Linked DNA regions of Homo sapiens: all the other regions are linked to region 2. The links are contacts of gene promoters, found by promoter capture Hi-C in blood cells and fetal thymus (Javierre and others, 2016). All regions are on one chromosome and are shown on one strand. The core of a region is centred on a gene start or on the middle of the fragment in contact, and the rest is flanking DNA. Distances in the headings are between cores, read along the strand shown.

The links. Contacts are between HindIII fragments. The CHiCAGO score rates a contact against its expected background, and 5 or more counts as called.
Region 1: a contact is called between a fragment that was not itself captured here and the fragment with the promoter of LPP-AS2 in region 2, in 1 of 17 cell types (neutrophils). The highest score is 5.7, in neutrophils.
Region 3: a fragment that was not itself captured here is called in contact with the fragment with the promoter of LPP-AS2 in region 2 in 1 of 17 cell types (M0 macrophages); the score reaches 5.7 in M0 macrophages.
Region 4: a fragment that was not itself captured here is called in contact with the fragment with the promoter of LPP-AS2 in region 2 in 1 of 17 cell types (naive B cells); the score reaches 5.5 in naive B cells.
Region 5: a fragment that was not itself captured here is called in contact with the fragment with the promoter of LPP-AS2 in region 2 in 17 of 17 cell types (neutrophils, activated CD4 T cells, megakaryocytes and 14 more); the score reaches 21.0 in neutrophils.
Region 6: a contact is called between a fragment that was not itself captured here and the fragment with the promoter of LPP-AS2 in region 2, in 5 of 17 cell types (neutrophils, activated CD4 T cells, fetal thymus and 2 more). The highest score is 9.8, in neutrophils.
Region 7: a contact is called between a fragment that was not itself captured here and the fragment with the promoter of LPP-AS2 in region 2, in 1 of 17 cell types (total B cells). The highest score is 5.5, in total B cells.

What each region holds. Positions count from the first base shown.
Region 1 is chr3:187,711,274-187,715,347 of GRCh38, reverse strand. All of the region lies in intron 1 of LOC100131635 (hCG1645011-like), which reads right to left. It also overlaps a transcript of RTP2 not described here. Among named protein-coding and RNA genes, the nearest start is that of RTP2, 11 kb to the right of the region's middle. The HindIII fragment of the contact is 3,458 bases long and covers 75-3,532 here.
Region 2 is chr3:188,152,305-188,155,812 of GRCh38, reverse strand. It overlaps LPP-AS2 (LPP antisense RNA 2), which reads left to right and starts at 1,725. Exons shown (of 1, transcript NR_036497.1): 1 at 1,725-3,508. It overlaps LPP (LIM domain containing preferred translocation partner in lipoma), which reads right to left and starts at 1,656. Exons shown (of 12, transcript NM_001375462.1): 1 at 1,561-1,656. RefSeq lists enhancers at 1-421, 2,221-3,121 and a silencer at 1,449-1,788. The HindIII fragment of the contact is 6,292 bases long and covers 1-2,851 here.
Region 3 is chr3:188,507,070-188,510,887 of GRCh38, reverse strand. All of the region lies in intron 5 of LPP (LIM domain containing preferred translocation partner in lipoma), which reads right to left. Among named protein-coding and RNA genes, the nearest start is that of LPP-AS1, 60 kb to the left of the region's middle. The HindIII fragment of the contact is 2,839 bases long and covers 693-3,531 here.
Region 4 is chr3:188,645,307-188,649,077 of GRCh38, reverse strand. All of the region lies in intron 7 of LPP (LIM domain containing preferred translocation partner in lipoma), which reads right to left. It overlaps LOC124906316 (a long non-coding RNA gene), which reads left to right and starts at 2,774. Exons shown (of 5, transcript XR_007096213.1): 1 at 2,774-3,003; 2 at 3,598-3,714. The HindIII fragment of the contact is 728 bases long and covers 1,543-2,270 here.
Region 5 is chr3:187,752,126-187,755,855 of GRCh38, reverse strand. No RefSeq gene overlaps it. Among named protein-coding and RNA genes, the nearest start is that of BCL6, 8.5 kb to the right of the region's middle. The HindIII fragment of the contact is 8,209 bases long and covers 1-3,730 here.
Region 6 is chr3:187,733,402-187,736,976 of GRCh38, reverse strand. It overlaps BCL6 (BCL6 transcription repressor), which reads left to right. Exons shown (of 10, transcript NM_001706.5): 2 at 2,070-2,108; 3 at 3,274-3,444. The coding sequence starts at 3,284. Among named protein-coding and RNA genes, the nearest start is that of BCL6-AS1, 8.5 kb to the left of the region's middle. The HindIII fragment of the contact is 8,715 bases long and covers 1-3,575 here.
Region 7 is chr3:188,574,667-188,578,329 of GRCh38, reverse strand. All of the region lies in intron 6 of LPP (LIM domain containing preferred translocation partner in lipoma), which reads right to left. Among named protein-coding and RNA genes, the nearest start is that of LPP-AS1, 7.8 kb to the right of the region's middle. The HindIII fragment of the contact is 3,134 bases long and covers 1-3,105 here.

The DNA.
Region 1 (4,074 bases), core at 554-3,053, 440 kb after region 2:
AGGATTTCCTGTGTCTAAAGATGGAACGGGCTTTGGGTGAGCATCTGAACTCATCACTGAAGGTGATTTAAGCTTAAGATGTGTGGTGAGTTGGCAGCAATCTTGGCTTGCAGGGAGGGTTGGATTAAATGACTCTAAGGTCCCTTTCAAACTTGAGATTACACAAGATCCTACCCCATTTAGAAACTGATTTTAATCATGGCGAGGGATTCAGAGTAAGTGTTTCCTCCTAGGAGTCTCAGGACAGCAGGGCCATGGAAGTCTGGGGGCCATTTGCGGAGGGTTGTAACCTGTAACCTGTAACCTGTAACCTGAATTGCCCTGCACTCCAGGGACCAAGTTGTGTCTTTCTTTGTTTTTTGTTTGTTTGTGTTTTTTTTTTCCTAACGTACAGAGGCTTACAGTTTCATACATATCATTTTCTAATAGTGAGGCTATAATCTATCTCCCATCATTTCTACCTGGTGCACCCTATTCTTCAGTCACATGGAGAAGCTCACCATTTCCCAAACCTGTGAGGCTTCAGTGTCTTTGCAAACACCAAGACCCCTGCCTAGCAAGTCTCTTTTCTCCATTTACCCTCCCTTCAGTCCCTCTCTTCTTCCAGCCTGTGAATTTCTTCAGCCTGAACAACTGTGAGCGTCTGTACAGGTTTGTTGAGTGACGGAGCAAAGGAGTGAGTGCATGATTAAGGGTTCCTACTGGTCCCTGCTTTCTCTGAGGCTGTTCTACTGGTGCATTCTAGCAAATAGCCACAAGGTGGCAGGGTAGACCAAGCAGTGAAGGCTGTAGGTGCCACTTTTTCTGGCTCCAGGGAAGCAGGAAGGTATAAATGGGGCCAGTGCTATTTTTTGAGTTGGTCTCCTATGGCTTTGTACCTATTCTCTTTCTAAATCCTCTTCGTCATCTCAGCAGAGCCATTTAACAGAACTGACTGAGGGGCTCTGGCCCCCAAATCTTTCTTTCGGAGATCTACTTGAATGTGTGTAAAGTTCCACTCTGAATCATTCCTTTGGGGATCAGGAATTTCCAGCTCTTCTCGAAAAGGTAAGGGGTTATATCTCAATTCTTGGGCAAAAGAGGCCAATTCCTAGTAGAACTGTGGAGAGAGGCAGGGGTTTATGATATGACACTAATCTAGTGTCTAGTATAACAAACTTTACAAATCACAAAAGCCTTTCATCTCCAAGGGTTCACTTAATCCTCACCACAATCTCGCCAGTTAAGGAAGCAAGATATCCCATTTGGCAAGTGACAAAACTGAGGTTCGGAGAGGAGAGCCTAAGAACACCTGGCTAGCGGGTGAGGGCCGAGAACAGACCATTTGCCTTCTGACTTGCTGTCAGACACTCAGCTAGCACAGGCAGTAACTTTGTGTGTCAGTGGTTGAATTAACAAAAAGGTACACCTATCTTTGTGAGGCAGGAGAATAGGGTCTGGAGACAGAGAACCTAAGGCCAATTTGCACTGGTTTCCTAGAACTGAATAAAAAGGAAAACCCCATCTCTCCACACCCAAGTAACAAAAGGATCCGAGGCTACTCCCTTTGCAACTTGCTCCCCCCACCCCTCCTGCTTTTCTGCCTTGCAAATTAAAAATGAAAGTACCTCTGATTGGTCCCCTCCTGCAACCAATCAGACTGATTGTAGGCCTAGTCTTCACTTGCATAGGGTGTAACTTTGTAACTTCATGTTAGCCTCTGATTGGTCACCTTCCATGTCCAATCAGATTGGTTGTGAGCCACTACTTCATTTACATAGGGTGTGAACCAAGTAATCAATGGGAAGCCTCTAGAGGGTATCTAAAGCCCAGAAGATTCTGTAACCAGCGTTCTTGGGGTGCTTGCTCAAGCCCACTGCCAGTCTGTGGAGTATACTTTCGTTTCAATAAATCTATGCTCTCTTTGCTTTATTCTTTCATAGCTTTGTTTGTGCATTTTGTCCAATTCTTTGTTCAAAATGCCAAGAACCTGGACACCTTCCACTGGTAACATTTGTGTACCCTTGAGCACAGCTTTTTCAACTCACAACAGTGTAAGGAGAAAATTTAGGCTTTTAGGGTTGGTATTCTCTTAGGGTCAAAATTGTAAATTCTGGGAGTAGACAGAGAGGAAGCCACTGGGACATGCCATGGCGCCCACCACCTGCATCACAGTGTAGGCCCGTGTCCCTGGACGGCTGGTGCCTAGGCTGTGGGCTGGGTACATCTCAATCTCCTCCCTGCTCCCCTTCAGTGCTGAGGGCCTGAGGAGGTGCCCCTTAAGCACTGGTCTCCTGATTACACTCAATGACTCTGGGTGGTTTTGGGTGGGAGACAGCATCAAATCCCTGCTGTCCTGGGCCCTGCCACAGTGAGACCCAGAGCAAACAGCTTTCGCCTTGATTGAAGACCAGGCTCTGCTGTTGACCAGCTACTGGCCTTGGTCAGGAAACTTACCGTCCCTCAGCCCCAGCTTCTGATTGCAAATGCAAAGACTGTATAGGATAATCTTCAGGACCCCTTTTGGAAACAGTGACAAGGACTTTTCTGGTCAAAGTAACTGAGTGATGGAGGTAGGAGATTGCTCTCACTAGGGGTGTTCTGGGAATATAAACCATTCGTTGAGACCGCAGAGTTCTAATTCCTCGGGTCCAGCCCTTTCTCATCTATTGTTCCCAAGTTTTCCTGCATCCAGGAGACGAACATGCATGGACTCAGGACTTAGAGTTTTCTTATTCATGCCTCCTGATATTTTCACAATTCAAAAGGGGCTAACAAAAAGACACTAGTTATCAGAAATTCTAAGCCATTTTTCAGCTCACAAGGGGCTCAAAGTTCCTCTACATGTAACAATATGGAACTTTGCTGAGACACACTTTGTCTTTTTAAAAATAGTATCTATTGTTCTGAATTTAATTTCAAAGTTAAAATATGTTAAATATACATAAAAACTTGAAAAACAGCTATGACAAAACATAATAAATAACATTTATTAGACATTCACCATATACTAGGAGCATTTAAAAGTTTTTTAAATTTTTAAATAATTATGGACTCACAAAAAGTTACAAAAAATAGTGCAGAGAGGTCCTGTGTACCCTTCTGCAAGTTTCCCTCAATGGTAAGGTCTTACCTAACGATAGCACAATATCCAAGCCAGGAAGTTGACTCAGTGGGTATAATCCACAGACCTTATTCAGACTTACATCGTTTTACATGCACTCGTGTGTATGTGTATGTGCGTATGTGTGTGTGTGTGTTTCTATGCAATTTTGTTGTATGTGTAGATTCACATGGCCACCACCACAACCAAGATATACAGCAGTTCCATCATCTCGAAGACCATTTGTGCTACCCTTTTATCGTCATCCTGTTTCCCTCCCTTCATCTCTAACCTCTGGCAACCGCTGATCTGTTCTCCACCTCTATAATTTTGTCTTTTTGAGAATGTTCTATAAATGGAATATATAAGTAGAAAAATAATATTAAATAACATTTACTGAGCACTCACTATGTGCCAAGAACTGTTTTTGGTTCTGTGCAAGTATAAGCTTATTTGATCCTCTTCGGAACCCACTGTAATCATCTCTTTTATTATTCTTACTTTACAGATGTGGAAACTGAGATTATTACCCAATTTTATGCAGCAAGTCACTGGCAGAGCTGAGAGGAAAATCAAGATCTGGCTCTAGACTCTGAAGTTGTAATTATCATATTATCTCTCTAAATTGAGTCAGCATAAATGTTTAAGAATTAAATACAGAAAAGCATAATTAAGAAAGATCAACAGTAGCCTTAGAAAACTTCAATGGATTGGTGCCATACAGACCACATTCTCTAAGAACAGTACAATTAAGTTAGAAATCAACAATAAAAAGGGAACTGGAAAAATTCCACTTGTTTATATATTTTTAAAAAATTCCTTCAAAACAACTCATGGGTCAAACAAGGAAAGCTGAGAGTTTACTTCTAACCGGAGAGCAGTGGGTTCCCTAATGGCATAGTGCATGGTGCAGGTGTTGATTTCTTCAAGGCTGAAAACAAATAAAGGTAAGACTATCTCTGCCCCAGACTGAATCCATGAGGGCAGGGACC
Region 2 (3,508 bases), core at 476-2,975:
CTAACTCCTGAGCTCAGGCAATCCGCCCGCCTTGGCCTCCCAAAGTGCTGGGATTACAGGCGTGAGCCACCGTGCCTGGCCCACACACTTTTTCCTTTAACTGCCCCCTGGTGCTGGCAGGAACTGTGCAAGCAGAAAAACTGGTGACGAAGTGGAGAAAACCATATTGGATGTCCTAACCCCCCACTGTCCACCATTATTGACCATAGGCTCTAGGTCTAGCACCCACCTTCGTGGACCTTTACCTATTCTTCTATCTATAAGAGTTGAGGAAGGGGGAGGATGGGAGAGGGAGCTAGATGCTTTGTAAAGGTGCCTAGCCACACTTTCCCCTTCTTCACTTTAGGCTTTCTTAAAATGCACATGTGCAGGGAAAGGTAAGCCATTAAGTCATCAACACCTTAGTGAGAGTGAATTTTACAGGAAAGGCAAGAGATTTAGTAAAAGGGGAAGGAATGGAAAGAGAAAGGGGACTGGAAACACAGTTAAGTGAGTTTGGTACTAGCAAAAGCCCCAGAGAAGACCCTGAGTTCTCGCTAGTTGTTTTGTGTTGGGGGAGGGAAAGCAGTGGATCCCTTCTAAGGGAAGGGAAGCCAGAGAGATTTTTCAGTTCTCCTACGACTCCGAGGTTCCAAAGACTCTGCCCTGTCCAAGCACCCAGGCACAATTCCACTGATTAGCTCATCTCATATCACAACCTCCCCCATCCCCAACCCCTTGCCTCCAACTAAAGAATATTTATACTTTCATCTCCATTTCCCACACTACTTAGTCTTCTCTGGCCCACGGTTCCCTCGAAGAGATGTCTTCCTCCAAGCCGCTAGCTGGCTTCAGGAAACTCCTCAACCTCCAAAAACCCCATTCAGTGCAGGACTCTCCAAAAGGCCGTCCCAGGGACCAGAAAATCAAACCCCCTCCCTGGAACTTCCTTTAACTTTGTCCACGCCTTTGCTCCAGCACTTAGCATTTTCTACCCTAGGCCAGGTTTGACTCCCAGGTTCAACTGAGTTCCTTGAGGGCAACGTCCAATACACCCAGCACAGGGTCTGCCACACACAGGGTGCTAGAGAAATGCTTAGAGAAAGGGAACTTAAGTCCGGAGCCAACTATTTGAATTATGGTCTGGCCTCTAGTAAATAACTTCCGGGCGACCCTCCTTCTCTCTGGGCCTCAGCTGCCCCAACTGTAAAATGGGAGGACTTGGAGGACTGGGTCTAGGCCCTTTCCGCTGTGACAACTGTGATTCCGCGAAAGCTCTAAGCGGATGGGCGTGGCCCCGCCCCCTGGGCGCCCAGAAAAGTCCGGGCAGGGGGCGCGCAAGGCTCCAACCCCGCCTAGCCTGGGGTCGACGCTTTTGGAAAAACTCTGGGTCCCCCTCCCCCATGGCGTGCACCCCGTGATTGGGCCGCGGCCGGCACTTCCGCACAGCGGGCCAGGCCAGAGCAGGGCGCGCGCCCTGCGCTCTTGCCACCCCGGAGGCGCTCGCGCCGGGGGAGGGCTGGGGGTTCCCGAGGCGCCCGCGGGTGGAGGGTGAGGGGAAGGAAGGATTTGCAACAATACCTCAGGGAGGAGGCAGCCGGGGCAGCGGCGGTGGTGGTGGCGGCGGCGGCGGCGGCGGCGGCGGCTGGAGGCGGAGGCAGAGGCAGAGGAGGAGGTGCCCGGGCACTCCCCCTCCCATTGTCCCCAGCCCCGGACAGGCCCGGCCCCGCGCCCCACACTGGCCTCCTCGAGCGCGCCGCCCGCGCCCAGCGCCCCACGCCCCGCGCCCCGGGCCGTGCAGCCAGCCCTTACCTTGCAGCGCCCGGCTGTCTCCCGATCGCTAAAGCTACTTATCCCGGGAAAGCTCGCGCGGGACCCGGGAACGAACCCACAGACAAAAAGTGAAACTTCGGCAGGGCTGGAGCGGCTGCTGGTTGGTGCCTTTCCCCCTCCTTCCTCCCCACCGTCCCCACCCCCTCCCCTTGGTCTCCCGTGCGGTGCCCTGAGCGCTGGAGGCTGACGTCAGGGGCCTGAATTCCTGACTTTGCCTGCACGCATTTGTCCATGTAAGGTATGGGAAGGCGTGTGCCCGCGAAGCCGCCGCGCAGAGCTCGCCTGGCGGGGGAGGGGAAACCCGCAGCCGGCAGTGGCTTTGCCAAAAGGTGGGCGCACTGAGGGCATTGCATTTCCTGGGAGGAAGAGGAGGAGACGCGGGAATGCAGGGAGCTTGCAAAGGAGGAAGAGAAAGAGGGAGATGTGGAGACTTTGCCCCTGCTAGAGGAAGAGGAAGGAGACGTAGGAGGAAGCGGCCGCGTCAGGGGGCTCCTGGAAAATGGAAAAGCCTGCGTCTACTATTAAGGCGTCAAATTAGGGCACTGAGCTTGAGTGGAAGAGATCCAGCCATGAAATCCCCTTCCAAGATTTTCCTCGTGAGCCCCGCCCTGGATTCCCAGCAAGACTCAAAACTTACAAGGTGTCAGAGCTGGCAAAGACCAACTTCCAACCCGTCCGCTTGGCACGTGAGGAAACTGAAGCTCTCGGAAGAGAAATGACTTGTACAGGGTCGTCACTCAGCAGATCGAGGAGCGGGCCCAGGCGCTCTGCCTCCCACTTGGGTTCCCGCCTCCAGGAAGGGCCCTGGCTCCCTTTTAGCCCTGAGCCTTGAAGCAGGTTAGATGCCCGCGAGCTGTGCGGACCACCCAGTGATTTCTACTGCTCTTGGCCCAGAGCCAGTTCCTGGAAGGTCCTGGTTGACAGCGAGCCCTGAATATCAATGACAATCAGTTGCTTCAGGGCAACTTCCTCTGTCCTGTGCTCAAATAAATGAATCCCTGGAGTTTAACGTTTACTTCTGAGCCCCGCCCAGAAAGCTTGCTCTGTGCTTATAGCTTCAAAAAAGTCTGCGAACGAGATGAACTGGTTTGAATACAGACAAGCCTGTCATTGGAAGTTTTGAGTTGGATTTTTCTTTCCCCTCTGACATCTGTAAGGGTGAACGACGATGAGAACCACCACTTAACTGTGTTAGGGGATTATGACGCGCAGCAGCCATGGCCAGGAAAGCATTCCATACCCTGAGACTTCCTTTCCTTGCACTTCTCTCCTATTAATATCTAAAGTAATCCCTCACGTTAGCACATAATGAAAGCAGTCTCTCACCCGGCTATTGCATCTTCAGGTGAGTTAGATAGGACAGAGCGTAGTCCCCCCTTTACACCTCAGACAAAAACTTAAGAAACGTTACTCGCCCAACACAAAACAACTGACTGACCAAGCACCTGTCTTCCCCTCCTCCCATCCAGGTCTCCTGACTAATCCCTTCATCTTTCCATACCTGGCCCTGACCTCTAGCAGGACCTAATTCCATTCATAACTGTTGAGAGTACACCATGAGCTACTGATTCATAAAAACTCCAAAAAGTGGTTCTTCTGAGGATGGACTTTAGTGGGATTCTTTTGACCAGGAATTAAGGAAATAATGTAAAAACACATGTTATTGGATTTATTAAGCACCTTCCTTGTGCTTAAT
Region 3 (3,818 bases), core at 863-3,362, 350 kb before region 2:
AGGAAAGAGAGAAAGTAGCTGAATAGAGAAATCAGAGAGAGCTATATGGCGACAGAATTGAGAAGGCCTTAAATGGAGAACAAGTATTTAACATATTTACAACATGAGCATAAAGATATAGAAGGAACTCTGCAATGTGCAAGTGTACTTGGCAAACACGAGTGTTCTTTAAGGTAAAAATAGAGTAAGAGCAGACTCAAAGGGTCAGCTGTGGTCAGACAATGCAGGTGTGCAAACCAAGGCATATAAGGAGATTGGCTCTTACCCAAGGTGCTGATATCTAAAGGATAAACACATTCCCCATGACGAAGGAGAGAGTGGGCAGGGGTAATTGTATCTTGGGACTTAGTGTTGATGTGGGAACAAACACATGGTATGAATCACACATATTTCAGGCTGAGCACAGACAATTTATATTAAAACACTCCCAGCAGAAATTCCTATTTTTAGGAAAAAGGTTGCCATTGATAAAAAGTGAGTGAGAGACCGTATCAGAAAGCTACTGATTTCACCTTAATCAGAAATGAACGTGATTCCACAGCACAACAAACAAGGGTTATTGGAGCACGTACACATTTCTGCCTTAGACCCAGGGAATACAATGCAACAGACTGCTATGACAAGACTTTTACTTTGCTAGGTGGAGGCTGAAGAAAGTCTAAAGGAGGCAAGGAATAATGTCGTCTCAAGCTTCACTATTCTTGTCTCAACTTAAAAATCATTTCTATACCCCAGAATTCTGCTCATGTCTCATTTCAGGCTTTCTTATGAAATGTTCCTTTTTTCAAAAAATATTCAGAGTCAAATAATAATCAAATGTCTACTATTTACTCAGTGACAGTTTAGTACCTCGTATTAAAGAAATGAGACAGGCCCGGTGCAGTGGCTCACGCCTCTAATCCCAGCACTTTGGGAGGCCAAGGCAGGCGGATCACAAGGTCAGAAGTTTGAGACCAGCCTGGCCAACATGGTGAAACCCCATCTCTACTAAAGATGCAAAAAAAAAAAAAAAAACAACAAAAAAAAAATTAGCCAGGCATGGTGGCACACAACTGTAATCCCAGCTACTTGGGAAGCTGAAACAGGAGAATCGCTTGAACCCAGGAGGCGGAGTTTGCAGTGAGCCGAGATCATGCCATTGCACTCCAGCCTGGGCGACAGAGTGAGACTCAAAAAAAAAAAAAGAAAAGAGAGAGAGAGAGGAAGGAAGGAAGGAAGGAAGGAAGGAAGGAAGGAAGGAAGGAAGGAAGGAAGGAAGGAAGGGGACAAAAAAAAATGAAAAGTTGAATTACTCACTTCCAACTTTCCTTTTCACCTCTCCCTTGTTCCAATGTGAATGTTTTTCTTTATGGGACGGGTCCACTTAAGCCGAGTTTACAGTCTCTACTGTCAACTGCAAACTCTGTCAGTGCCAAAAAGAATCCCACCTGTTGTTCAAACTTAAAGTAAAATATATGCCTAACCAGGTTAAGATAGAAAGGATTAAACTGGATGTGATGTTTGACCAAGTCGTATACTCTTAGTTTTAGTGTCTTCTTATGAAATAAGGGAGCAATAATACCAACCCCACAGGGATATTTTGGAGACCAGGTGAAATAAGGTAGTAGAAATCATGTGTCCACTAGAATGCTAAGCATACGGTAAGTCTTCTGCACATGTTTTCTGGTGGTATGTTGTGTATAAAAGAGGATTACAGGATTATACTTGGTGTGTTATAAGAGAATTTGCAGCTATTAAATAAAAAGCCCTTGGTCTCAGGTGAAGCTAGATTTTGGTGGCCAAAGATACGTCCTAAAATAAGAAAATACTGGAGTTTTGAAAGGAAGCTAGCAACCTTTGAGGACAGAAGCACCTTCGATATCCATGAACATAAGATTTTCCTAAGCCCCCTCCTAGATTTACCAAATCTAAACCTTTGAAGGCAGGGCCTAATAATTGGCATTTAACAAACCCATCGGCCTCACCCCAATTCTTGTCCATGCTAAATTTGAAATCTGCTGGCCTAGAATTTGGTTGCCAGTTGCTAATCCAAGTGCTAACAATAACTGGAACAATTTAATTAAAATCCCACAACTCTGAACACATTAAAGAATTCTTTACTAATGTATTCTAACCCAATTCCAGGGGACAAGGAAAATACTTTTCTCTCATTCGACAGTTTCTGTGTTCTCACCCGCAGTGCCAACAGAGAAAACACAATCTACTTCACTTCTCCTCATCTGTCGAAATGGCAAAGACGTTTACCACCTCGAAGGAGTGCGAGTTTCCATTTACTGGTGTTAATAAAGTCTTCTGAGTGTTCTCATAAATCAACTATAAGTTGGCATTATTCATAGCACCCTGTTGGAGCTTAATACATATTCAATTAAAAAACAATGACAACAATACAGCAATATCCACAAATTAGCATTAATTATAGCAATGCATTATTCTCACCCTACTGCTACAATTTTGTCTAGGCAGAGCTGTTTATGTCTGGAGACTGTATAGTCCCTTTCATTAACAAAGGGCAATATTTGCTCATTGGTATCAACATTTCCTCTAGTAACATTCACATCACACCTGCTTCAAAGTCCTCATTTTTTTCCAAAGGATTCTTCCATTTGCCACATACTAGGACAGGAAGGATATGTATTCTCCCTGAAGAAAGTCACAATCCTGCCAAGCATCCTGGACTCTTCTCTTTCCCATAAGCCCCCTCTTTCCAAATTGCTTTTGATTCTTGTTCCCCTTCTCCATGGTCATGGCCACCACCTTGGTTAAGGTCCTTGTCTGCCTCAATGGACCCCTGAAGGTGACTCCAAGACACTCTGTCATCACCATTTCTGATCACTTGAGTACCACTATGTTATAGCAATCCATCTAAATACAGATCAAATCATTTTATTTACTAGCATAAAAGGCTCTTTATCGTGTCCTAATGATATAGCCTTAGATTGGAAAAATCTCCCAAATGCCATCACAACTATTAAAGAAAAATTATTTATTTGAATTGGGGGAGTAGCTATAAAGCAGTCAGGGAAACTTTTACCAAGGACAGAAACTGAAGCAAAAGGAACAGCTTAAGCAAAAAGCTGCAAAGCTATGTGTCTCTTTATCTTAGTTCAGGTTTCAGCCTTTTCCAGGGGGCAACGATCTGGTAGTTGGCCAAGTTCCCCACTAAATATGAAAGAACATCACCATTCCCTTCCCTGCCTTCCCCACCTCCGCCACCCATCCGCGCTTCTCTGGGGCACCACAGCTTATCTTGCTATACAAGGTTTTGCTGACTCTGGTCTCCTGTTCTGCATGAGCCTTTCACATGCATAGTTGAGGTTGAGGAATCTGTGCCTAGTGGGTTTGAGGTTTCATCAAGAGAAAAACGGGAAACTTATGTGATTTCACTGAGTAACTATTTTCACTACAAAAAAAAAAAATTCCCATATTTATTTTTTCCCCCTTTCGAAATGGCACTAAGGAAACACATGCCAGACTGCCATGAACAGAGGCTGTACTTTCCAAACAGTAGCAAGGACTAAAAATAGAAAAGCTTGATTTGCTCAAGATGTATATAACTTCCTCTCCCATTTCCTCTCCCCACCACCCTGAGTCAGTATACAGAAGCAGTGCACAATGAACCCTTTGCATGCTTACAACAACCCCAAAAGCATCAAAAGGGTGATAAGTATACAGACTTCATAGTCCTTTCCCAGAGAATTCCTATTGCACAGTCGAAGAAAGAATAGATCAATCAAGCCACAAATATCAATCAAGTAGCTATTCTATCTTCTCGCAATAAAATAAAGGTTATGGGCCGGGCGTGGTGGCTCATGCCTGTA
Region 4 (3,771 bases), core at 657-3,156, 490 kb before region 2:
AACTGAAAATGACAATGACGATAGCACTTTGACAAGATAACACAGTGATAAAAACATTTTGTAGCAAACACTTCATATGCCAGAATTAGAATCAAGCAAACACTCTTTTCCCTTCCTGAAGCATTACAGAAAAGAGGAAAAACCTTTTTAGAGAGGAAGAAAAAATATTTTTTGACATGTGCATCTTAGCTTGGTTACAAGAGCTAAGAAACCAATACAACCTAGCAACATGCTGGCCCAAACTGGCCAACAATAAAATAGAAAGGGGAAAAAATAAACCTCCAGTGCCAGATCCATCTCAAGTGGAAATTTTCTTGGTGCTTGAGCACCAGAGTCATCATTAAACTCTGGAGAAATTCCCCAGCCTCAGGAACACTGGAAACAAATACCCAAATGAGGGTACTATTTATTTAAAATAAGGGTACCATACTCAAAGTGATTCAAGAAGTATGAAGGCTAGATAGAGCAAATGAAGGAATGAATGAAGGAGAGACAAACAGGACAGAAGACAGAGATCTTACTGCAGTGGGCCAGAGATGATATCTGGGTGTCTGGATACGACGTGAGTGCAGCAGTACACATGAACAGCTCATGGTTCCCCACCAATCCTCCTTGATGAGTATTCATTGTCTGAAATGGAAACCTCATAAGCCAGTTATGAGCACTAAGCAGGATCTAACTTCCCATCCTGATTTGGCATTATGTAAACCTCTGTGAGCTCAATGGATTCCCAGGGGCCTAAGGTCTTCATCTATGGAGTGGGAGTAAGGCATGATCCTTTAGGAGCCTTTGCTAGTGGTGAAAAGAATTCACCATCCCTATGTAGCCCATAAAGATTGTAGAATCACATGATGGCTCGTTTTTTCTAAGTAATACTTAGTGAAAGTTTAATCTAAAGTCAACTACATCATGTGCTCAAGTCAACTAAAGTACTACTATAATGCAGAGCACCAACATATTAATGGAATATGAGGAAGGTTCCATTAAAATTTTCCTATTTATGTAGTGTTCTATTGTCCAAAAAGTACTTTTTCATTGAGTCTCATGTTTGAACCTCACAACAAGCAGAGTGAAAAAGGTCTAATGATTATTCCAGATTTACAAATGAGAACATTGAGGCTTAGTAAGACCAAACGATGTAACTGAAGACCCATCTTTGACCACAGGCCTTATGTGCTGACCATATCCCACAGCTTTTTTCATCCAGTCTTCCCTCACCTTTAATTATGAAAGAGGAACACTTTTTGAGAAAAATATGCTAAAGTAGCCACGATAGAGCAGAGAAGGATCAGGTCAGGACAGCTGTGATACATTACAGAAATGACCGGCAGTGACTCTTCTTCAAAGAACGTGTTTGAGGTAAGCTCAGGTGCTCAGATGCTCTCTCTTAAATCCATGCAGACAGGGTGGAGGTGATGCTTGTTCTGAGGTCCCCATAATAGCCAGGACTAATGTGAATGCACTCTCTGTCTCACATCCACACCTCCTTTATTGTCTCTTGAAAGTACACAAAGGGGACCATAGGGAATGGCAGGGAAAGCTTTCTTAACCTTGGAAAGGCATTAGTACCAGCTGTGTCCTGAGGTATAAACACGCTAAGTCAAACAAAACCCAAGAGAGGGCAGGAGAAAAGGAACAAGTGAATCAAGTCTTCTGTTTACAGTCCTTGCAGGCAAATATTTTTTTTTTTCAACTAATGAAAGATCCATTCATGAAGCCCTATCTCCCAATTAAGCGGGCACTTTCCATCAGGCACCGCAGCAGACGCTCTTTACCGGATCAAGCCAGGCCCCCGGATACAGTGAGCCCTGTGTGAGGACCACAGCTGGCATCCCAAAGTCAGCAGAGTCCTGCACAGGGTGGGCCCAGGTCAGAGCTGGATGGTGGGAAATGCAGTGTGTTCACCTCCACCCTCTTCTGCAAGTGAGCTTACACAGGGAAATCCAGAGTAGAAGTGAACAGTTCAAAACAGGGGTTCCAACTGTTAAGAAGAAGGGTGAGTGGATGAAAAGAAGTAAATATTAGTTGAATACCTATTATGGGCCAAGAACTAGGCCAGACACTGGCATGTTATCTAGCTCAATTAACAGCAACACTCTGCTTGGCACATATTCACAGTAAGGCTCAGGCAGGGGAAGCAACCTAGCTAGACACAAATGTCCAGGAAGTGGCAATGAGATGTGTATTGAGGTTGCAATGATTCCAGAGACTGTATTTGTTTGTTCCTTTTATAGCTTCCTGATGATTTGTTCGGTTTATGCATCTAAGCTTCAGCACCATGTGATAGAAAGGGAACTTGTGTTTTGTTCCTAGCTGAGAAACTTTTTGGCTTTCTGCCAAATGTGGGGCATCAGTTGAGGTGATTTCTAAGGAACATTTAAGATCTGGTAATGTTCTAATTCTGTGGCATATAGGAGCTTTTTGTACTTAAATGTAGCAAGATATCAGTGGTTTTGAGGTTGTGCCCCACAAAATACCAATTTGCTTTGGGTAATTCTGTATGCACATCCTTGCCTTTATAGGCAACCTGACTCCTACGGGCCTCAGTTGCATCATTAGTAAAACAGATAACAAAAACTCTGCCTACAATCATTCAAAAATATGCAGGGAGAACCAACTGAGTTTATAGTACTTTGTATGCAAAGAATTATTTTACAGATAAAATCAGCATCATTGTTCTTCCAGGGGCTAGCTTATAGGGTTCCTGATCATTCACTGGTAGCCAGGACTGCCTCCGTAAACAGAACTTTGGGTATGGTTCTGTTTACCATATTATGCTCCAGGTGACCAGCTGAGGTTCTGGCTGACCATCCTTGGTCACTCCCTGACTAAGGAATAAATCCTGAAGGAAAAAGAAGAAAACACTGATACTTTTACCCTAGGGTGAATGAATGAAGCTATGAAAGTATCTGTCCCTAGCAGGCTGAAACACAATATCCATAATATCATTTCTTCCTAACAACAACCCTGATAAAAAGAAAAAATATTTTCTTCATTTTACAGGTAAGGACATATAACAATGTCAAAATCGGAAGAAATCTTAGACATGATTTCATTTATTTCTCTGTTTAGATTTAGGAAAACTGAAAGCCAAGTCTTGGAATATGTAGGCAAAGCTTTAAAATATAAAGAAAATATAAAGATAAGGTCAGAATTCTACTTTTACCTAATGATTATAAACATTTTTTTTCCTGAAAATTTTGCTTAGATTCAGATCCATTTGTCTGATATAAATTATTTAAGGAATTTATTTTCTGTTTTTTTTTTTGAACTTATATTTGTCAATCAGGGCATGACAAACTTTGCAATCCTCTCAGGGTAAAAGAAGTATATAAAAATTTTCTTATAAATGCACTATCCCTTTAAAAATATTTTCCTATGAACAAGAAAAGAAGGGCTCAGTAGGTTTATCTGAAGCTACTCTGGGTTACAAAGGAGGGCACTGGCAAAACTGATATTAAAGAGAAGGGATCCACGTTCCCACACTGTAGGTATTACTGCGCATTTGTCTCCTAATGAAAAGTGACCTTGTACTCCATGCACGAGACCACACCTCACATAACAACATCTGATTTTGAGCCTTATATTTCTTAACAGGGATGAGGACAGGACCCCGAATACAGATGCTTCAGATGCTTCTGAAAATCATATTTATGAAGAAGTGCTTAAGCACTGAGGATGGCCATCCAAATGGAGAGACGACTGAAGAGATTTGTGAGTATTGTCTTCAACGTATCTAAAGAAAGCATACAAACAAAGGTGCTTTTCCTC
Region 5 (3,730 bases), core at 545-3,044, 400 kb after region 2:
AAAGCGTTCATAATCCTACTACTGTAAGAGAGCTACTGTAAATATTTTTGTCAATTGTGTACTATTATTTACATCCAGTCTATTTTCTACAAAGAATATATTTTTAAAAATTGCTGTGAATATACTGTATACAAATATTATATAGATATATAATATGCATATATCTCTATATACATATTCTACTTCTTTCCACTTTACATATTACCATAAGTATCTTTCAATTCTAATTTTTCGAAATTAGTTGTATTGTAATTTACTTAATCATTCTTCATCCAACATTCTTTCTTCCAGCCTAGTCATGATAGGACATGTAGGTTGTTCAAATTTTTTGTTGTTAGAATACAGCGCTAGGATGCATATACTCATTCACTGATTTTTCCTGTATGTTGAATTATGCATTAAAGATAGATTCCTAGAAGTGGAATCTCTGGGTCAAAGGGTCTGCTTATATTTATGATTCTTGGTATATGTGGCCAATATATCTGAAAAAGTCATACTAATCAACACAGTAGGACCTAGTCTCACTGCACTTCACCAAGAGTTATTTAAATGTTGGCTTTCACAGTGAATATAAGTGTTAGTTCAAAGATCTTATAACTACTTGGCAGAGAGGCCAATAGATGTCAGAAAACATGAAGGGAAGAAGAGAAGAGACACTTAAAACTCAAGTGCAGCATTAGAAGTAAAAGCCATTGATAACTGACAATTGGTTAGAAATTAAAAAAGCATCTTTGAAGTCATAATGTACATCAATACAATAACAGGCCTCAGTTTACCAAAGTGGATACTGCAACAAAATAAATGATTCGGGGTGAACTGGTGATGGGAATCAGCTCTGCCACCAATTTGCTAAGTGGTGTTTGCAAATTGCTTTCCTCTCTGGACCTTTCTCAACTGTAGAACTGGTAAGCCGAAAGATGAAGATAGATGCTTTCAGAATTTAGAGAATTGGGTTGTACTCAGATAATGCAGACAAACTCATAGGGTTAAGGGGTCTGATAGGAGCTTCTCCTCTGTAGACACCGAGACTCATAACTCTGATGAGATCCACAGTTCTATTGGAGTTGTGCAATGAAATAGCAGACACTCTTGGAATCTCTTGGGGCTCCCCCAACTTCATGAATGAATCTCTAAGTTCTGCATGCCCCATATAAACTGATGACAAGATCTTTGAGAGCACTGTTTCCTTAGTGGGTTTCCACAGAGAAATTTTGAATATGGGGGTCCACGAAGTGGCTTGAGCCATCTACCCCAACAACAACATTTGGCCTTTGGTGCCTCTCTAGTATTCTCCTGATGGTTATGCAGATGGTGGCATACAGAAATGGAGTAAATTAGTAAACTAAAAGAATAAATGAGGTGCCCCATTTCTCTGACTCTATTCTAGGAAAATGAGTGAGAAGCAGGATCTCCCAGATTTCAGGAGAGATCTGGGTCACTTTTTGGAGGTTTCTGGTATTGAAAATTATATATATATATCCTCCAGCTGTATATATATATATATATATATATATATATATATATATATATATAACATCTCTATATGATATACGTATCTATCTATACCTCTATAGATATCTATAGATATCTATCTATATCTCTATATGATATATAGAGATATAGATATCTCCTCCAGGTAATAGACTTAATTTTTAAGAACATGTTTCAATTCACAGAAAAATTGAGCAGATGGTACAGAGAATAACCCTGTGCCCAGTTTCCCCTATGATTAACATAATACATTATATGGTACACGTGTAACAGTGAAACAATATCGGTACATTATTATTCACTAAAGTTCATCATTGATTCAGATTTGTCTAGGTTGATCTTATGTCTTTTTGTGGCCAATTATTCCATCTAAGATTCGACATTATATTAAGTTGTCATGTCTCCTTAGGCTAATCCTTGCCTGTGACAATTTCTCAGACTTTCCTTGTTTCTGATGACCTTGATGGGCTTGAGGATTACTGGTTTTTTGTAGGACGCCCCTCTACTAGAATTTGTCTGATGTTTTTCTTATGATTAGACTAGTATTATGAGAGCAGGACCACAGAGAGAAAGAACAATTTTCACCACATCCTATCAAGAGTATATACTATCAAGATGATTTATCATTGTTGATGTTGGTCTTAATCCCCTGGCTAAGAGAGTGTTTGTCAGGCTTCTCCTAAGCTATTTTCCCCTGACTACCTTTCCATACGGAATATACTCCCCGGGAAGAAGTTACTATCTATAGCCCACAATTAAAGAGTGTGGGTTTCTGTTTCTCCTCCTTAAGGCCGGCACATGTCTATAAATTATTTGGAATCCCTGTGCACATCTATATAAATAAATTTGGAATTACGGGATGTTTGTCTTTTCTCTCTGGTTTATTAATTTACTTAATAATTTATTTATAATAGTATGGACTCATTACTTTTTTTTTTTTTTTTTTTTTGAGAAGGAGCCTCACTCTGTTGCCCAGGCTGGAGTGCAGTGGCACAATCTTGGCTCACTGAACCTCCGCCTCCCGGGTTCAATGGATTCTCCTGTCTCAGCCTCCCGAGTAGCTGGGATTACAGGCATACGACACCATGCCCAGCTAATTTCTGTATTTTTAGTAGAGACAGGGTTTCACCATGTTGGCCAGGCTGGTCTTGAACTCCTGACCTCAAGTGATCTGCCCACCTCGGCCTCCCAAAGTGCTGGGATTACAGGTGTAAGCCACTGCACCCAGCCCTGGACTCATTAATATTTATTTTATACTTTGGGTTATAATGTAAAACACTATTCTATTTTGTTGCTCAAATTGTTGCAGCTTTGGCCACTGGGAGCTCTTCAAGTGGCTCCTGTGTCTTTTTGAAATATCCCTCACCAATGTAGTTTTGTTTTTGAATAATTCCTTACTTTAAGGTGCTACAAGATCTTTCATTCTCATTTGTGTATTTCCTGCCCCAGTTTTAGAACTCAACAATTTCTCCAAGAAGCCTTGGTTCCAGCTGCTGAGAAATGGCATTAAAACTGAGACCAGCCTGGCCAACATGGTGAAACCCTGTCTCTACTGAAAATACAAAAACTAGCCGGGCGTGGTGGTGCAGGGCTGTAATCCCAGCTACTCGGGAGGCTGAGGCAAGAGAATCGCTTGAACCCGGGAGGCGGAGGTTACAGTCGGCTGAGATCGCGCCACTGCACTCCAGCCTGGGCAACAGAGTGAGACTCTGTGTCAAAAACAAAAACAAACACAAAAACAAAACAAAACTGAGCTCTGAGCACCAGGTGTGCTTGTTGCTACGACAAATATATTTCAAACCTTATATTTTTAACACCAGCACCCACACAACTACAATACAATTGCACTATTCATAAAACAATTATAGATTATTAACAACATTCAATCATGGTGTCATAGGAGCCTGTGGTCCTACACTGGATCCCACACACAAAACTTGCATATGATGGTCATCTTCTTTCAGTCCTGTTAGGATTGAAAGAGAGATGTATAGCCTCAGTGGAGATAATATCAAAAGTCTAATTTTATTTATTTATTTCTTTCTTTATTTTGAGACAGGGTCTTACTCTGTGGCCCAGGCTGGAGTGGTGCCATCATAGCTCACTGCAGCCTCAAATTCCTGGGTTCAAGAAATCCTCCTGCCTCAGCCTCCCAAGTGGCTAGCACTACAAGTATGTGCCATCATGCCTGGCTATTTTTTTTTTCTTCCGTTTTTTTAGAGACAGGGTCTACGTTGCC
Region 6 (3,575 bases), core at 490-2,989, 420 kb after region 2:
TGGTTTTGAGATTTTGGGCAAGGCCTCTCACCCGGAGCCTCAGTTCCCTCCCTAATAAAGCAGGGCTGTTATAAGGATAAGATGCAATCTTGAGGGGGTGGGAAAGGACTAAGAGCTCTGTAAAAATACAAACCAAATGCTGGTGGTGCTTCCACACCTGCGGCATTTGGGGTGGGGGTGGTGACAACATTGCCCACACTCAACCCACACACTCAGGAGTTGGGGGGGGCTGGTTCTTAAGACGAGTTGGCTTGCAAAGGAGTGAACTTGAGAAGGACCTGCGCCTCGTGTATGTACATTTGTTTTTGGCCAGGCAGAGGCTTACGGTGAAAAGCCCAAGGCCCAGCTGACAGTGGACACAGGGGAATTTGTTTGTTTGTTTCAATCCGCATCTGGAGTGAGTCATTGCCACTTGTCATGGTGAAATGGCAAATCTGGGCTTCCTGTGGTTCCAGAAGCCTGCGACTGGAAATCCACAAGCGAGCTGGTGGTTGAAGCTGGTTAAAGAACAGCCTAGGTATTCCAGAAGTGTTTGAGGATCCCTTCCATGAAGGAAGAGAGGAAAGTTTTTAAGTAAACCTCCCACTCCCATGTGTCTTCAGCTTTCTTTTGCAAAGGAGAAAATCCTTGAAGTTTGGTAAAGACCGAGTTAGTCTATCTCTCTTTGCCTATCTCGAGTTGGGCTGGGGAGAGGAGGAGATAGGTTCTTTTGTCTTTTTCTGTCTTCTCCCTTCCCCACTTCCTTCCCTCCAGTCCCCACTCACTCACATGCACACACTAACCTTGGAGCCGATGGGATTGAGTGACTGGCACTTGGGACCACAGAGAAATGTCAGAGTGTTTGGTTACAGACTCAAGGAAACCTCTCATTTTAGAGTGCTCATTTGGTAAGACTCAGCAGCCTGGAATGGGGCAAAGTGTTTGTGTGGGGGAAGGAACTTAAAAATGAGATTCACCCACATCAGGGTGCTGTCTTGCATGTTCTACAGCACGTAGGCTGATTTGGAAAGGGGACAGGAATTTGAGCCAGAAGACCTAGGGCCGGGTCACCAACCATGTACATGGCCCAACATGACCTTGTTGGCCTCAGGCCTCTTTACCCAGAAAATAGCTCTAAAAGGTTCTGCTTTTTTTTTTTTAAAGGGGGGAAGACAGTTCAAATATTGTTTTATTTTGCAGCCCACATTTGATCATAAATGAGGGTCTTACACCTGTGCTTTTAATGATTTTGTTTTAGAGAAGCCGGTTTGGAAGGAGGTACATATTTCATTAAATCTCTTCAAGGTTTAGTGCTCCCTGGCCAGTTCTCAGCTAAATCACATAGTTAAGTCTTTTACCAGCAGGGAGAAGCACAAACTTAGAAGCAATGGCATTCTGTCTGGTCTTAGACCCAGTAGGGAAGGGAGAGAACACTTTGAAAAAGAAGACAAAGGTTTTCAAGGAATACGTAGACATGACATCTCAGGCTGTGTTCTGCAGAGTCTATATTCAGTCTTAATGTTTCAGATGGGCAGGAAATACTGCCTAGCTGTTTGTCTTGAGCAAGCCACTTGAACCCCTAAGTCTCAGTTTCATCGCCAGTGAAATAAGGATAAAGATATTGGCCCTATCGTCCTTGCGGAATCATTCTAAGGCTTGAAAGATAATATTTTAGCAGGTTTTGAATGACGTCCAGTGGTTTTAGGCCACGGACGAATCGTTATTGTTAATGTTGACAGAACCATTTTTCTTATTTTTTCTTTCCCATAAACTCTAGTGGCCTTTGGATAGTATAAATTTTTTCTTTGAAGAAGGAAATATATGTATGTATGTATGTATAACTAATTAATGTATGCAATTGTACTCCCAGTACTCTGGATAAAAACATTATTATCTCATAGCTTCGGGTGCCTGTTGTTTCCGTAAGAGCAGAGCTGGAAAATGTTTGTTAGCTTGTGGTAAAACCACACCAGCTGGCAAGCTGCAACTATCAAAGCAAAACTAAATGTGTATGTCCTAAAATAAGACTATAGTGGACAATCTTACATTCGTTAAATCAATTTCTGTTTGCTTTCTTCTCTTCTCTGTAGGTTTTGAGCAAAATTTTGGACTGTGAAGCAAGGCATTGGGTAAGTAAATAAAATTATATGCTTTAAAATGTTGGGACAAACTGTTTCTTTTGAATTTGCCAATACATGTGTCTCTGTGAACTTTGCCACTGTTCATTATATGAGACAAGGATAACCAGTTCCCTCTACATCACTCCTAGTCCTCATCCTTCACCTCTGTATTAGACTGTCTTACCACTTGCATGGTCAATCATTGTTACTCTTTCTTTGTACAAACTAATTTAGCCAGCTAATGTTCACCAACAATATGCTAGCTCCTCGAGGTACAAAAGTCAAGCAACTCTAAAGCCTAACAGTAGAGAGAGACCAATGGTGACTGAGATGATGAAATAAGATACCTATGAGAATAGCTATGAGTTTTGAGAGCCTCCTATGAACGAGGAATGTATTTCTAACTTTTATAACCACATAGGTATTACTACTTCCATTTGGGGAAACCAAAGCCCCAAACCAGTAAACAACCTGCTTAAAGTCCCACAGCTAGCAAAAGGCAAGTCTAGCCTGATAATCTTAAAACACAGTGTCTTGACTGGGCGCGGTGGCTCATGCCTGTAATCCCAGCACTTTGGGAGGCCAAGTTGGGCAGATCACGAGGTCAGGAGTTTGAGACCCAGCCTGGCCAACATAGTGAAACACTATCTCTACTAAAAATACAAAAAAATTAGCTGGGCATGGTGGCAGGCACCTGTAATCCCAGCTACTCGGGAGACCGAGGCAGGAGAATCACTTGAACCTGGGAAGGCGGACTTGCAGTGAGCTGAGATTGCACTATTGCACTTCAGCCTGGGTGACAGTGTGAGACTCCATCTCAAAAAACAAAAACAAAAACAAAAAACACGGTGTCTCTCCATTGCAACATACTCACTACCTGTCAGTGCTTGGCAGAGTATTTGGTATGTGGGAAAAACACTCAACAAATATTCATTCCCTTTGCTTTTCCCCTAAAGGGCTTTCTATCCCAACTTGTTGGATAAAAGTTATTCTCCCCATTTTAAAACTATGAAGAATAATGGCCAGAGTTGGACTATGAATTGTTCAAAGATCAAATACAAGGGACCTGAGTTGCATTCTGTACCTTAGCAGGCTAAGCCACCTGCTCTGATACCTGTGGCAAGCAGGAAACAGGTTCTGGAGGACTAACAGGATTTTGGCCTCTTTTTTCAAGTGAAGACAAAATGGCCTCGCCGGCTGACAGCTGTATCCAGTTCACCCGCCATGCCAGTGATGTTCTTCTCAACCTTAATCGTCTCCGGAGTCGAGACATCTTGACTGATGTTGTCATTGTTGTGAGCCGTGAGCAGTTTAGAGCCCATAAAACGGTCCTCATGGCCTGCAGGTGAGGGATCTGAAAGGAAAGGGTGGGTAAGTCAAAGTGGGGTGATGGTGCTGGCAGCCAAGCAAGGCAGAACATGTGGGCCTTTTACTGCATCTGGGATGACGTCTCGCTTTGTCTCCAGATCTCAGCAC
Region 7 (3,663 bases), core at 289-2,788, 420 kb before region 2:
GCTAGGAAGGAGGCCAATCAAGATTTTATGAACCTTAAAAGAAAAAAGGAAAGGAAGAGAAGGAAAGTGGGGAAAGGGCAAGGGAATGAAAGGAAGGAAGGGAAGAGGAAGGACCATAGTGGCCACTCCACTTGAAAGGGGTTTACTGCAACCACCAGTCTTATGTGTAAATGCTCTCTCTCTTCAGGGTAGTAGGCAAGGATGGTCACTCTATATTGAAATTATTATTAAAAACAATAGTTATATCTTTGTTTTGAGATAGATTCAAGTACAGAGACAAGGACAAGCCATCATCTTTCAAAAATCTCATCTCTTTTTCTACTGTAGTACATTTAAGATCTAGGTTTCACAGTTTATTCTGTGAAAGATTCTGGTTAGTGACTTTCTGGAAAGAAGGAAGGCGGCAGGGAGGGAGGAGAGAGAGAGGGAGATGGAGGTGGGGAGAGGAAGACAGAAGGGGGAGAGGAAAAGAGAGAGAGAGAAAGGGCAAGAAAGAAGAAGGAAGGGGAGGGGAGGGGAGGAAGGAGGGAGGGAGGGAAGGGAAGGACAGAAGGAAGGAAGGAAGGAACGAAGGAACGAAGGAACAAAGGAAGGAAGGAAACCAAAGAGAGGAGAGGAGGGAAACAGTAGAAAGGAAGGGAGGGAGAAAAAATGTAATAGTTTTTAATTTGCCTTTGTAGATATTTATTACTAAAGTTTTTTTACTTGCAAAACATATGTATATACATACATATACTTATATAAATTTATTAAAATATATAGTATACATACATTTATAAATATATTAATTACTGTATGTAAAACAAAAGCAAAGTAGGCTCATTAGAGAAAATTTAAAGATAAGTAGAGAAGTATAGAAAGAAGCCTGTTCCCAAAATCCCAGAAATAACTGGTTAGTGTATATTGACCATTAGATTTCAAGAAATACACACATGTACTTCTATATGTATGAAAATATATTCACAATTCAGATAACATATAGATTTGTCAATCATATTAGGCATGGAAGTAACTAGGGTGTATGTCTTATTTCACATAAGAGAAAATTAGATGAGAATAATTTGTTATTGTCAGGGAAATAACAGAATTAGGATTTTTTAAATCCAAAGCCCTACAATTATACATAATGAATAGCAAAGATATTTTCAGATTAAGTCTTACAAATCTAGAAAGTGTGAGGCAGAAAAAGCCAGTGTTTGAGAGCTCAGTGATCTTAAAAACAGCTACTGTCTTACAGGGGATTATTGCCACTTTGCCACTTCCAAAATGCTTCTTACTCCTTTCTACACAACACGTCTGTATGATTGCCAATGTTATCCTTCCATTTTACCCAAGGGGAAATGAGGCTCCAAGATAACCACGCTGATTAATGTCACCAACGCAGTAAATCATGGAGAAAGGACCTGGATGTCTGAAAACAAATTATTTTACAAGTGGAAAAGTTAACAAAGAATGTACAATGTTTTCTGAAAATGTGTAATTCTCTTCATCGTTTTGAACTGTGACTTCTGGAAATCTGCTCACTGGTGATGGAGATAGTCACGGAAGTATCACCCATCAGGACACAGTAAGATGCAGCCTCTTCTCCTCCCTGATTACTCTCATTTTGGACAAAATATGCCTACGATATGTAGCAAGACTAACATAATTTTCCTGTTAGAACTTCAAGAATTAAGATTCAGTGTTGCTAATCCTTGATTTGTTTTCTGCGATACAGAAGACAGGCCCTGAGACTCTGGTGACTTGGTGGTATAAAGTGAAGAGCACTGGACTGCAAATAAGGAATCCTGTACTCAGAACCCTGCATCACAGAATAGCCTTGCAAATGAGCAAGCCCGTCTCCTTACCTTTACCTACTCTACAAAACAGAAAATAAAGCGGATGAAAATCATAGAGGTACTAGGTAATGTGCCTGGCGCCATGTGTGTTATGCAGAATGAACCACTCAACATTCTACCAGCCTACCGTTTACCATCTCAGAGAGTGAGCCCACAACCCACTAACATATAATGAATGTCCTTTCCTCCAACCTGGTACCACTCAGTTCAACAGTGGCCATATCAATTCAATTGTTTAAATTCTGTGTACTTAAAGGAAATGCACCAATTGGTTTGAACTAAAGCAAATTCCTGCCCTATTAGAAGTGTGCAAAGACCAAAGAATATCAAAGGGCTACGACCTTTCCTGAATCAAGTCTGGATTTAAACCAATGGCCTTAAATAAAATAAGAAATACTAAAATAGAGAACATTAGCCTCAGTAGTTAAGAGCAGGGCTTTAAATCAGTGGACCTTGTGTGCTTGGGGGTGGAAAGTATCCAGATGACAGGCTTCTTCTCCAATAGGGCTTCTTTCCAAACATTTCCATGCATGTCTACTCACTACTGAAAGCTCAGGGTCCTAAAAGATCATCACATTTTATTCCTCAAATCCAGTCAATCACATAGAGGCATTTTCTTGTTTGGCTTGATAGAATAGATGAGAATGATCCCACATGATCCTAAGAGGCAGGAACAACTGGTGAGAACCCATTTCTCAGCATGCTTCAATCAAGAAGTCCACGTCATCAGCAGCGCTAATTTAATTTAAAAAAAGCGGTGGTGCTATAATTGGCTTGCCATTCTAGCTAGTGGGTTTCCAGGGTAACCGTGTTCTTGCCACAGATAAAATCTACCTAGTAGCACAAAGACTAAGGGTTTGAGAAGAGTCAGCATCAAATGAGAGGTCAAGAATTCAGCCTGAAGAGAGCTACATCAAAAGCATATTTAGTTAAGGTGGACCGGATCCAAAATCTGAGCCCTGCCACGTACTAGCTGTACCATTTCAGAAAAAAATATTTAACTTCTCTAGGCCTTGTTTCCTCATCTGCAAGATGAACACAATAATGGAACCTGTTCTTGTAGGATTGTTACAGGAATAAAACAGAGAACTTAAACATTAATTTGTACATTTTAAATCCAGACTAAACGTAAAATAAATAAATAAGACTATGACAGATGTCCCTAAACCTAGACATTCAGAGACTAGGAAAACTAAAAACAAAAAATCAAAATAAGTTTTGTTTTCTTTTTAATTTACAACTTCAGAGAAAAAGCATCCTGAAAGCTTCTGAAAAGAGCACAAAATGGCTTGTAAAACTACGTTGTTATACAGCAGTGCTCATGTTATTACTGCCTCCCAGGACCTGACTCCTGGGAATATGCTGCCATGTCAGAGGCAATTTGGAAAGTCTTAATTGAGGAGAGCCACAGCTTTTCAGGCCGCAAATTAAGGATGGGGAAACCTTCCTTGCTTAGGGTGTGACAGCCAACTGGAATGTTTCATAGCTGTAAATACAGCAGGCCCATTTACCACGATTCCCCTCAAGGAAGAGACTCATCTGCCGCAAACGTAACAGTGATGAAAAAAAGGGGGAAATTTTGCCTCTGAATGAAAAAAAAGACAGAAAAAAAGTGAGCAGTTTGAAGGGGTCTTTAATGTGTAAATTTCAGGAGGAGGGTATCACTTTTATTGTCTTTATTTCTATTAGAAAAGATATCTGAAGATGAATGAGTATAAGCTTCAGCTGTAAAATCCATCATGTTACACACCCCCCTTAGCCCCCACAACACACACACACACAGGAAATTACGCTGGCAAAAGAGAAATGGAATTACTTACACCTG